Regions from separate parts of the Homo sapiens genome. Here regions 1 and 2 are each linked to region 3. The links are contacts of gene promoters, found by promoter capture Hi-C in human tissues and cell types (Jung and others, 2019). All regions are on one chromosome and are shown on one strand. The core of a region is centred on a gene start or on the middle of the fragment in contact, and the rest is flanking DNA. Distances in the headings are between cores, read along the strand shown.

Region 1 (3,944 bases), core at 1,221-3,720, 1.7 Mb before region 3:
CCTCGGATGCTCTGAGTCCGGACAGCGGGAAGGGGTCTGAGGACAGTCTCACTCTGTGCAAAGGGGTGTGGGTGACGTAGTCAAAGCCCGAGACACAGAGGCTGAGTGACCAGGCTGGGATAAGGTGGTGGTCACTAGGACCGAATCAGGACACTGACAGAAAGCGCCACAAACAGCGGGGTGGTGGGGCCGAGGAGCGGCCTTTGCAATCCAGAGGGGAGAGACGGGACTGATGAGAGCAGGCACTCTCCGCAGGGGAGATGAAGGGGCCCAAGCTTTTATTATGAGGCAGGTACAGCAAGAATGGCTTGGTACACAGAGCACTTGCTCAACCCCTGTCATGAGCCTGTGGGGAGGGGCAGTCACCCCGCTTCACACAAAGGGTGGTGGAGAGACCAAGTTGCTTTGAGACATGAATTGAGTGGAGGCGGCTTTGAAGCCAGTAGCAGCGCATGGAGAGTGAGGCAACACAATATATTCCCAGGAACAGACCCAAACCGCATGGGAGACCCTTAAAAACACTGTGCTAAGTGAAAGAAGTCCACCCCAAAGACAATCCCACCTGTAGCAAATACCCAGACTAGACACATCTAGAGACGGAAAGACAGAAGGTGTATTTGTGGCTGTTGGGATGGGGCAGGGAATGGGAGTGGCTGTCTTATGGGTACGGGGTTTCCCTGCTGGGTGATGAGTAAGTTGCACAATTAGATGACAGCAACAGTTGCTCTCTGTAACATATACTCAACTCTACACTATACATGGAACTCTGAATTGACTAAGGACCATTGAATTGTACACTTTAAACAGGGGAATTTCACGGTAAGTTTTTATATCTTAATAACGTGGTTAGAAATAGAGTGAGCAAATATTTACAGATGAATTGTGTGTTTGAAGCTTCAGGAGCAGTTTAGAAACCTCACCCACATCGAGGGGTGGTCACGGCAGGCGGCTGTGGGCTGCAGATTGAGGGAGGCTGCTGTGCTGGGTGGGTGTGGCAGGTCCCAGGTGCTGGCGAGGATTGGGAGCTGTTTGCACAAAAACGCTAAGATGGTTTGTAAGACTTTGAGATAAAATGAAACTACCCAAGAAAGCCCTAAAATTTTAAAGAGCAGGTTAGAGACTGAACCCCCAGGAGCCTTTCAGCCCCCAGGACGGAGCCCAGGATTCCCAGCTGCAGAACAACACAGGGGGCTGGACCTTGTGTGTGATATGGAACAGGCGGCCAGGAGATGGTTGCCTCCGAATTCTGCCCAGGCTCAAGGCTATTTTGTATAAAAGGTCCTGAGATGTCCCTGCCCCTGCATTTTGGCTTGGTTAACATCAGACCTACTTAACCAGCATAAGCAAGACGGAGGTTGAGGCCACGTGCTCCGCGCTTGCTGCTTCCTTAGCTGGGCGGCCCCCCTGCTCTTCCCACAGGGCTCAGTCGCATGGTCGCCCCTTTGCCACCCTCTGAGCACCTCCCAGGCCACTTCCCAGGCCGGCCAGTCCCCCTCATTCACAGCACTCCGACGGCCTCCTTCACCAGCAGCAACGGCTGCATTTATTCCTTTGGGGGTTTCTAGAATGTTTGGCATCCAGAGGGCAGAGGCTTTGTCCGATGCCACTGCAATCCCTGCTACACAGTAGGTATCAGCCAACCCTGTTAAATGAATCCACACACAGGGAAGAAGCACCAAACAGACCCAGCTCTGGCTGTAGTCCCTGCCACGCCCACCTCCCCAGACACGAGGAGCTCCTGGGAAGGGGATGATGTGGTTGTGATGGGGCTACAGTCTCACCCACCGCCAGGAAGAGCCCAGCCTCCCAACTCCCACCCATCCCTCTGGCTGCTCTCTACTGTGAAGTGCCAGCTAGGCGGTGCACCTCACCCCACGGCAGGCAGGCACAGGCTTGTACAAGAACAGACAATGAAAACAGGGTTTTAATCAGGATCGTTTACTTAGCACAGAGCCTGGCTTGAAGGAAGAGGACAGTGAGTGGTAACTGTATGACAGGAAGAGTCTTCTACAGAAAGATCATGCCCCTCCAAGCAAACACATTTTCATATTTGACCTGAACATTAAATCTCATTCTATCAACAAAGTATGCATCTCACTCTGTGGGTGACTGACAAGCTACCAACAAGGTTCTGAACACCTGGCCCATCTGCGGGATCTGAGGAAGCAGATGCGTGCAGTTTGGGGTGCTCTTCTAGCACGGCACCCCGTTCTGGTACCATCTGCCTGGGCCGCACTCCCGGGGCACCTGCCCACGGGCCTCCACGACTCGCGGTTCGGGGGACACCAGATACACCGTGACAGCTCCAAGGAAAGCAACCCGTGCCGTTCACTGCAGGGTACAGTAGATTTTGCTGGAGACTTTCTTTGTGAAGCAGAAACTGCCTCTGAAGTGCATGATTTCCTCTTGTGATCGTTTCTTTCTCTGCCATCTTAATGCCTATTACTCATCCTTCCAAAGATCAGAATTTTATAAGAAACATATGGATCTCAAGACTTATCGTCTGCCCTATACTGCACAGACGTGGAGAGTACAGCTGCGTGCACTTCTCCGTACTCTGCACATTCACACACAGCCTATAAACTCCCATAAACACATTCCAGGGAGAAAATGTTGAATCAAAGCCATAAGCAGCCAGTCCCATTGCCAGGCCCCGGCATGGTGACTTTATATTTATTTTAATAGACTCTGGGCTGTCATTTCCATCTTTATAAAAAGATACAGGATTTTTTGAGAACTAGCTGAAAGAGAACCATTCACAATTGGTTCTTATACATTTTCTCACTGAATGCATTTTCACAAATAAAAGGAAATACTAGATGGGTGAGCAGCTGATCTCTACCTTCAGGGGATTTGCTTACGGGTAGATTGCCCCACAATAAGAACGTTTCCATAACAAATGCCATAAACCTACAAATGTGAGAGTAATACAACATTCCACAGATTAGAATCACCTTGGACTTCCCAAGCTTCCTCTTCACTAAGCCAGAAACATCAGACATTCCTGGCGTGGGGAGGTAAAATCATTCCTGGCATGGGGAGGTAAAATCCATGCTTCCTCCAGTAATTGCTTTATCATTAATGAGTTTTAATGCCCTGTTCTCTCCTCTCCTCCCTTCCACTTTTCCACCCATCTCTCCCTCTGTCCCTTCATCTCTCCCTTCCTCTGTCCATCCATCCCTCCACCTATCCATGTATTCATCCATCCATCCACCTGTGTGTCCATCTCTCCGTCCATCCATCCATCCATCTGTCCATCCATCCATCCCTCCCTCCCTCCCCTTCTCCCACCCCTCCATCCATCCATCCTTCCATCTGTCCCTCTGTCCATCCATCTATCCATCCATCATCCATCCACCATCCATCCATCCATCCATTCATCTATCTCTCCCTTCCTCCCTCCCTCCCTCTCTCCTTCCATCTGTCCCTTTGTCCATTCATCCACCTGTCCATCCATCCATCTGTTCCTCTATCCATCCGTCCACTTGTCCAACCATCCATCCATCCATTTCTCTATCCATCTGTCCACTTGTCCATCCATCCCTCCATCCATCATCTACCCATCCACCTGTCCATCCATCTACCCTCTATCCACCCATTCCTTGGTCCACCTTCCCACACCCCATGAAGGTAGTGTCATAAAGGCAGGGACTGGCCCAGAAGCCAGGACCCAGAATGGAGGCAGACGCTTAGCAGGATACAGCAACTGCTAGCACTGAAGCCATAGGTTCTCCACTAGCAGCTGAAACCCACTGGGCTTCCTTCTGCAATGACAACCCAGATTGCCCTGGGGTCACAGGCAGCTCCTGCAAGTTCACAGCCCTGGCCTTGGCATCACGTCATTTTCTGCTGAACCTGCTTGCTCCCGTATACACCACACACCCTCAAAGACAAATGTGGGGATGCTCTGTCTGTCCCTCCATCACCAGGAAGCCAAAGGAATG
Region 2 (4,028 bases), core at 456-2,955, 1.2 Mb before region 3:
ACTAGGCTCATTTGTACCAGACACATGGGAGGGATTTGCCAGTGTTTGGTGCAACAGGAAGAAGTAGGGAGCAGCCAGTTGCTGGGCAGTTTCTGGAGGAACCTGTGAGACACAGCCTCCTAGTCCTGGTACAGAGGACTCTGAGCCACCCAGATTCAGGTTTGCCCCCATGGGTCCCTGGAAGAACCTGCCCCACAGCCTGCACACCTCAGATTCCTTGGGATTCCTTGTATGGCTTCCTGTACAACCAGAGTGAAAACCCTGCCCCCAAGTGAGTCTGAGTGGAGCCTTTGTTGCTTGTAACCAAAGAGCTAACCTAAAACATGACATTCCTAAGTGCTTAATAGCAATACAGACACTTTCTTGAGTTCTTGCAGGGTGTCCAGAGCTTAGCTAAAATCATTACAAGAGTTGAATCACTTGATACTCACAACCCTATACACATGTTTATTCACATGTCATGCATTTTTTGGGTACCGAGTGCAGGCCAGACAGTTCTAGGCACTGAAGAGACCGTCATAAGCTAGGAGAAAGTAATCCCAGCCCCCAGGGAGTGTGCAGGTAGTAGGCACAATATAAACACACAAATGAACAAGATGCTCTTAGAGAGTTGGGTTTTGAGGCAGTAACATGTGATAAAGGAAGGAGAGTCCAGGAGGGACGGAGGATCTTGAACATCGTTTCAGCTGAGACTTAATGCTGACGAGTATTTGGCAAGTTAAAGATCTGAGGTGATCTTGGAGATGGATTGTGGATATGGTTGTTGGGTGTGGAGACAGTTGATGGATGGTGGTGATGGCTGATGGATAGTAGAGATGGTTAATGAATGGTGGAAATGATTGATGGATGGTGGCGATGGTCGATAAATGGTGGTGATGGTTGATGGATGGTGATGGTAGATGGATGGTGGAGATGATTGATGGATGATGGAGACAGTTGATGAATGGTGGAGGCAGTTGGTAGATGATAGTGATGGTTGATGGATGATGGTGATGGTTCTTGGATGGTAGAAATGGTTGGTGGATGGTGGAGATGATTGATGGATGGTGGAGATGGTTGATGGATGATAGAGATGACAGATAGATGGTGGAGATGGTTGAATGGATGATGGGAATGGTTGATGGATGGTGGTGATGGTTGATGGATGGTGATGGTTGATGGATGGTGGAGATGGTTGATGGATGGTAGAGATGGTTGATGGATGGTGGAGATGGTTGATGGATGGTGGAGATGGCTGATGGATGATAGAGATGGTTGGTAGATGGTGGAGATGGTTGATGGATAGTGGAGATGGTTGATGGATTGTGGAGATGGTTGATGGATGGTGTTGATGGTTGATGGATGGTCAAGATGGTTGTACACAGTGTGAATGCACTTAATGCCACAGATGTGTACATTTAACAATGGTCAAAATAGTGAATTTTATGTTATATGTATTTAACCACTATACACACTCCCACCACCCACCCCATATATATATGTGAACATCTTTTGTGGGGAAAAAAACATTCATTGTTATCTTGGAATATTTAAAACAAAGCCAGAACGAACTGTGAAGTTGGGGAGAGAACAAGAGGCCCTCACTGCAGTCACTTTCCTGAATGGTGTGTCCACATCCAAATCCCTGGACCTTGTGAACATGACCATATTTAGAAGAAGAGTCTTTGCAGGTGTGATTAAGTTAAGGATCTTCAGATGCAGAGACCCTCCTGGATTATCCTGGTGGGGCCTAAATCCTGTGACAAGGGTCTTACTAAGAGGGAGGCAGAGAGGTAAGCCAGACAGAAGAGGAGGAAGCAGAGATGGGTGTCATGGCTGGAAGCCTCCAGCAATGGGATAGGAAGAAGAGGAAGGAATGGAGCCTCCCCCAGAGCCTGTGGGGGATTGTGGTCCTGCCAACATCTTGATTCACGTTTCTGGCTTCTAGATTGTGAGCCATTACACATCTGTTGTTTGAATTAAAAAAAATAAAAAAAATTAAAAAGAGATCTGGGACAGAGCCTAGGCAGAGGGATAGTGAGTGCCCAACCTCCCAGGAAAGGAGAGAGCCCAGGGATGGGAGAGACCCTGCACTGTAGGGCAGGAAGGTGGGCAGTGGCAGCAAGCAGGTCAGACATACAGGGCCTGTGTAGGTATTCCTTCCCCACGTACCATCAGGCTCGAGGAGGCTGGGAGCTGGGAGCCTAGGGACATTGGGAGAGGGAGCCAGGTGCAAGCATCTGGGGTGTCCAAAACACATCAATGTGATGGTACAGCATGTTCAGAACCTCTAGGACTGGATGCCCACATCAGGCGACGCTCACGCAGGTGATGTATCCCTGGGTGCTTCTAAACCCCTCCACTCAGGAAAGAAAACCAGAATGCAAGAATAGTGCCTTTGCATCTATTGCAATATGCTTAAAATATATTATTTACCAGCTGCAGTGCTTAATTTGCCACAGATTATTTGCAACCACATACGACTGTCTGCAGCCATAGCAGTGCACATAACCCTCTGGTTGGGAAGCCTGCCTAAGTGCCCAGCAGCAAAGGTGCTGGCAAAAGAGTGGAACATGGGATGGTTAGGGTCCCTGGCAGCAGGAGAGGTGGTCCTCAGAGGAGCCGTGCTGAGACTCACTTTGTCTTTAGTTCCCCTCTGATACTTTCCAGAGAGCCCCATGGGTGTCTGGGGTGTCCACTTGAACCCACAGGGACTCAACTGAATGCACCGATGGAACTTATCCCTGGCAGGTGTAAGCAGAAATGAGGATCTACTGGTGAACGGAGCTGAAAACATGCGGTGCTCAACAGTGCCCAGATTGCCTTCTCACTCTCCCTCTCCACGACCTCCAGGCACAGGCAGAGACCTCCAAGGTGGCAGCTCATTGGAAAGCGACCTTCTCTGTCCCATCTTTCTAGAAAAAGCCCCATGGCTTGGATCCCATCACAGCTGCCAGGGGAATGAGCCCTTTATTAGACCACGTCTGCAGTCAAGCTGGAAGATAAGAAGTGTGTCAGTGTGCCAGTGCCTGAGTGTGCATGAGTGTGAGCAGTTGTGATGGTGCATGATCATGTGTGGGTGTGAACATGTGTGGGTGCCCGAGGAGGGTCCTGAAGTCAGGGTGTGGGTTTCTTTTATGAGGCTCTGCAGTAAAGGGAAGTAAGGGGAACAATGTAGCGGTGGGGTTTTCCTGGCCCATGCATGGTAGTCCACCATGCCCTTCATACAACATATGTCTCATTAGCATCTGAAATCTCCACCTCCGGACATGAGTTTTAGCATTAACATAAGGAAAAGGTAACTATGAGTTGGAAGTTAAGCCTAGCTGTGCATGCAGGGCCTTGGGAAAGTTACCGATCCCCTAAAGCAGAAACATGTGGTTAAAAGCTTCTTGGGCCTTTGACGCTGATTGGCTGGAGTTACAGCTAGAGGAAGGGGCCTTTGTTCTTTTTTTTTTTTCTCCAGACCATGTGGAAACAGGAAACCAGCCAGCTTGCCTGTCTCAGGCCCACCTGTGTCACCCTTGCCTGTCTTATGAGCAGGGCCTGGATGGGCAGAGGCAGCTGGGTCACTTCTTCGTTTTAATGACAGAGGAACCTGTCCACAAAGTCGCCGTCATTCCTGCCCTCTCAGTAGACAGAGGTCTTGTGCTTGCACCAAGAGCATTCCATGCCGAAGCAAGGACTCCACTTAGCCTCAGGTGTTCCCTGAAGACAAGTGACTTGTGAGCCAAGCCACTCCTCTTTAATGCATCTGAGGAAGGGCCAGAGTTTTCAAAGAGCTCATCCTTGGCCTAAGCTTTTGGCCAACTGGGAAAATGCGCATCCCCAATGAGCCCCATAGCCTCATGCTGGGTGAAGCATGTCTAAGACCCGGCATGGACTGGCGCAGGACCCTGGGCCCCGGGCTTGAGTCAATGATGCAGTGATCTGGAAAGAAGTATTTAGGAACATCTATTTAGTTATGGTCCAATTCCCTTTTACTGCATCCTGCTGAAAACTTTATCCCCAACAGTTTTGCAAATGAGTTGAGCTGGCTGTTAGCAGAA
Region 3 (4,086 bases), core at 1,036-3,535:
AGATAAAGGTTTTCAAAGGAAAAAATGAGAAGGATTATATCATTGTTTTGAAATAATTATCTTTGGCTACAAAGATCAATAAGAAGGGTGACACTGGTCTGAGTTTGCACAAAAAGTTGCTGGGAAGATTTCTTCGAAAAAGTATTTTTTGTGTAAGGTTTTAACGGCCTTTGTGCAAAGTTGTTATTTTTGCAGAGCTTTTGTGATAGTTTTAGTTATCAAGCCTACAAATGTGAGAACCCCCTTTTCATAACCTTCTTTGTGTCTATATATCAGGCTTTGTGCCTGTGTGTGTGTGTGTGTGTGTGTGTGTTTTAACATAAGGAACTCCATTCTGATTCTGACAACTTTCGCAGTACCAAGGGCTTTTACGCATTTCCTCATTCACTGGTACAACCACTGGCTCAGATAAATTCAGTTACTAGCTCCATTTTCAGGTGAAGAAAAATAGGCTTAACAAGGTTATGTTAAAACCAGTGCACTGACACCCAGTGCACTCCCAGGTCAGCTCAACCTGAACCTTTGGGGGCAAAACCCAGGCACTGAGATCCCTTGAAGCTCCCTAGGTAAGTTCAACTTGATCCAAGGTAAGGAACAAAGTTAAGCTGGCCTAGGTCCCCAGCGGGCTGTGAAGGAGCCTAGGTCAGGACGCCAAGCAGCCCAGTCCAGAGCTCACAGTTACCAGCCACTGGGCTGCTTCCCACCCTCAGCTGGTATTCAAAGGAAGAAATGATTCCCTCTCCCTACCTACAGAAAGCCAACGAAGCAGATCATAACCAACAAGCGCATGCAACATTACCTCTGTCCACTCTAAGTACAAACAGAGCAAGCCCATGTGTTTCGAATCCTGACTCCACTAGTTTGTATTCCCATTTAAACAGTGGCAGTTGGGGGCAATGGATTTAGCCATTCCATCCCCATGGGTTTGCTCAAATTGCCTTGGATCCAGACAACTGAGATTTCCTCAATCTTATGTAAAGTGTGAACAGAAGTATCATTATAAAACTTGGCAGGGCGCAGTGTCTCAAGCCTGTCATCCTAACACTTTGGGAGGCTGAGGCAGGCAGATCACTTGAGGTCAGGAGTTTGAGACCAGCCTGGCCAACATGGTGAAACCCTGTCTCTAATAAAAATACAAAAACTAGCCGGGCATGGTGGCGTGCACCTGTAGTCCCAGTACTCGGGAGGCTGAGCCAGGAGGTTGCTTGAACCCAGTAGGAGGAGGTTGCGGTGCACTGAGATGTCACCACGCACTGTAGCCTGGATGACGAGACCCTGTCTCAAAAAAAAAAAAAAATTGTGTGTGTTGGCTGGGTGAGGTGGCTCATGCCTGTAAACCCAACACTTCGGAAGGGCAAGGCGAATAAATCACTTGAGCTTAGGAGTTCGAGACCAGCCTGGGCAACATGGTGAAAATCCATCTCTATAAAAAATACAGAAATTAGCCAGCGTGGTGGTAAGTTACTGTAGTCCCAGCTACTCTTGAGGCTGAGGTGGAAGGATCACCTGAGCCTGGGAGGTTAAAGCTGCAGTGAGCCTTGATCATGCCACTGCACTCCAGCCTGGATGATGAAGCCAGACCCTGTCTCAACAAAAGGAGAAAGAAACAAAGAAAGAAAACACGTGTGTGTTGATGTAATCTCACTAAAAATAGTGTGAACTATATAAATTAGTTTTAAACAGGTCCCTTAGCCTGCTCCCACTGTTGCCCCAAACAGACTGGGACCCTTAACTTCCCTTTATATAAATCCAGAGCCCCTGCTACCTAAGCCATTCTCAAGACAGCCAGCCCTGGGTCCCAGCAGGTCACACTCAGTCCCTCTCCCCTCCCTTAGCCTAGAAGGGGCAGGGCCAGCTTGTGCTTTGCTTTCAGTTCCCTGCACCTGAGCACTAGGCTGCAGGCTCAGCTTACCTGCAGCAGCCACAGCAGCAGCACTAGAAGCAGCAGCAGCGAGGGGTGCCTCCCGGATCTCATGGCCATATGGGAATACCCAAGACAGACCCAGAACGTGCAGCTGATGACCAGTCCTCCAAGCTGGTGGTCTCACCGGAGCCACACACCTCCTTCTCAGCCAGCAGCTTCTTCTCTAAAGGTTTTCAGGTCACTTTGGCCCAGATGCTTTCATCCCATCTTGCTCCTCCCTTTTCAGCTTTTCTTGCATTTATCAGAGTGGGGTGGGCTGACTTGTAAGCTTGAACATACGTTTGCCACAAGTAGAGTTCCTAGGAAGGGTGGGGTAGAAACTAAAGCCACCATGGTCCTGCACGTACACAAAAGACTGGCTGGGGTCTGACCTCAGGAACAACAGCTCAGCCAGCGGAAGTAAAACCAGCACCTATCGGAAAGCAGAATTATTTGTTTCTTTGTTTCCTTGTTTGTTCTGGTTTCCAAATAGAAGGTCCAATCATCTCTTTCTATAGCAGGATATGTTAGTGACTATTTTCTATAATCTTATCCTCTTGAACCAAACAAAAAAAACTAGAAAATGACAAGAATGATAACTTTATTAAGGGGGAAGGGATGGGGAAGAATGAAAGAAAAGAAAAATCAACTTTTACTTTCCAAAGCACTAAAAATCGTTATTCCAACAATATCCCAGGGCTCTGGGGTTTTCAAATTATTTCTACTAAAACCTTTTTTAAGCTTAGATTAATCTGCCTTTTTGAGTTTGGAATTAAAGTGGGAGGGAGGAGAGATGGGAAAGAGCCTCCCTATGGACAGGGATCTCTGTGGCAACCCGGGAGTCTTTGCATGAGAATTCTGAAAGAGACAATTTGAGATTATATTATACCAATACTTAAGGTTGCAGTAAGCAAGTTTTAAAACACAATCTGTGATACATTAACCCTGATTACCTTAACATGACCTTTTTATCACATTACCTTGTTTAAAGTAGTAAACAGATAAAATAAAAGGTAAACTTTCTTTGCTTGTTCTAGATATTGGCTTAGGCAAGGATTTCATGACCAAGAACCAAAAAGCAAATGCAATAAAATCAAAGATAAATAGCTGGGACCTAATTAAACTAAAGAGCTTTTGCACTGCAAAAGGAACAGTCAGCAGAGTAAACAGACAACCCACAGAGTGGGAGAAAATCTTCACAATCTATACATCTGACAAAGGATTAATATCCAGAATCCACAATGAACTCCAACAAATCAGTAAGAAAAAAACAATCCCATCAAAAAGTGGGATAAGGACATGAATAGACAATTCTCAAAAGAAGATATACAAATGGTCAACAAGCATATGAAAAAATGCTCAACATCACCAATGATCAGCAAAACGCAAATCAAAACCGCAGTGCGATACCACCTTACTCCTGCAAGAATGACCATAATCAAAAAATCAAAAAACAGTAGACGTTGGTGTGGATGTGACAATCAGGGAACACTTCTACACTGCTGGGGGGAATATAACATAGTACAGCTGCTATGGAAAACAGTGTGGAGATTCCTTAAAGAACAAAAGTAGAACTACCATTTGATCCAGCAATCCCACTACTGGGTATCTTCCCAGAGGAAAAGAAGTCATTATTCGAAAAAGATACTTGCACATGCACGTTTATAGCAGCAAAATTCACAATTGCAAAATCGTGGAACCAACCCAAATGCCCATCAATCAACTAGTGGATAAAGAAAATGTGTATATGCGTATCTATATGTATATATACACATATATGCGTGTATATATGTGTATGTACATATATACACATATATGTGTGTATATATGTGTATGTACATATATACACGCATATATGTATATATACACATATATGTGTATATATGTGTATGTACATATATACACATATATACATACATATATACACACATATATGTATATATATACATACACATATATACACACATATATGTATATATATACATACACATATATATACACATATATATGTATATATATGTGTATATACAGATATATATGATGGAATACTACTCAGCCATAAAAAGGAATGAATTAACAGCATTTGCAGTGACCTGGATGAGATTGGAGACTATTATTCTAAATGAAGTAACTCAGGAATGGAAAATCAAACATTGTATATTCTCACTGATTTGTGGGAGCTA

The links. The method cuts DNA at HindIII sites, captures the fragments that hold promoters and counts their contacts. A contact is called where the count stands out against the background at its distance.
Region 1: a contact is called between a fragment that was not itself captured here and the fragment with the promoter of CDH26 in region 3, in 1 of the 25 tissues and cell types used here (dorsolateral prefrontal cortex).
Region 2: a fragment that was not itself captured here is called in contact with the fragment with the promoter of CDH26 in region 3 in 1 of the 25 tissues and cell types used here (lymphoblastoid cells).

Annotation. Positions count from the first base shown.
Region 1 is chr20:61,681,787-61,685,730 of GRCh38, reverse strand. All of the region lies in intron 2 of CDH4 (cadherin 4), which reads right to left. Among named protein-coding and RNA genes, the nearest start is that of CDH4-AS2, 36 kb to the left of the region's middle. The HindIII fragment of the contact is 3,769 bases long and covers 586-3,944 here.
Region 2 is chr20:61,170,472-61,174,499 of GRCh38, reverse strand. No RefSeq gene overlaps it. Among named protein-coding and RNA genes, the nearest start is that of CDH4, 80 kb to the left of the region's middle. The HindIII fragment of the contact is 3,737 bases long and covers 1-3,573 here.
Region 3 is chr20:59,956,622-59,960,707 of GRCh38, reverse strand. It overlaps CDH26 (cadherin 26), which reads right to left and starts at 2,285. Exons shown (of 18, transcript NM_177980.4): 1 at 1,913-2,285. The coding sequence starts at 1,981. The HindIII fragment of the contact is 5,804 bases long and covers 1-4,086 here.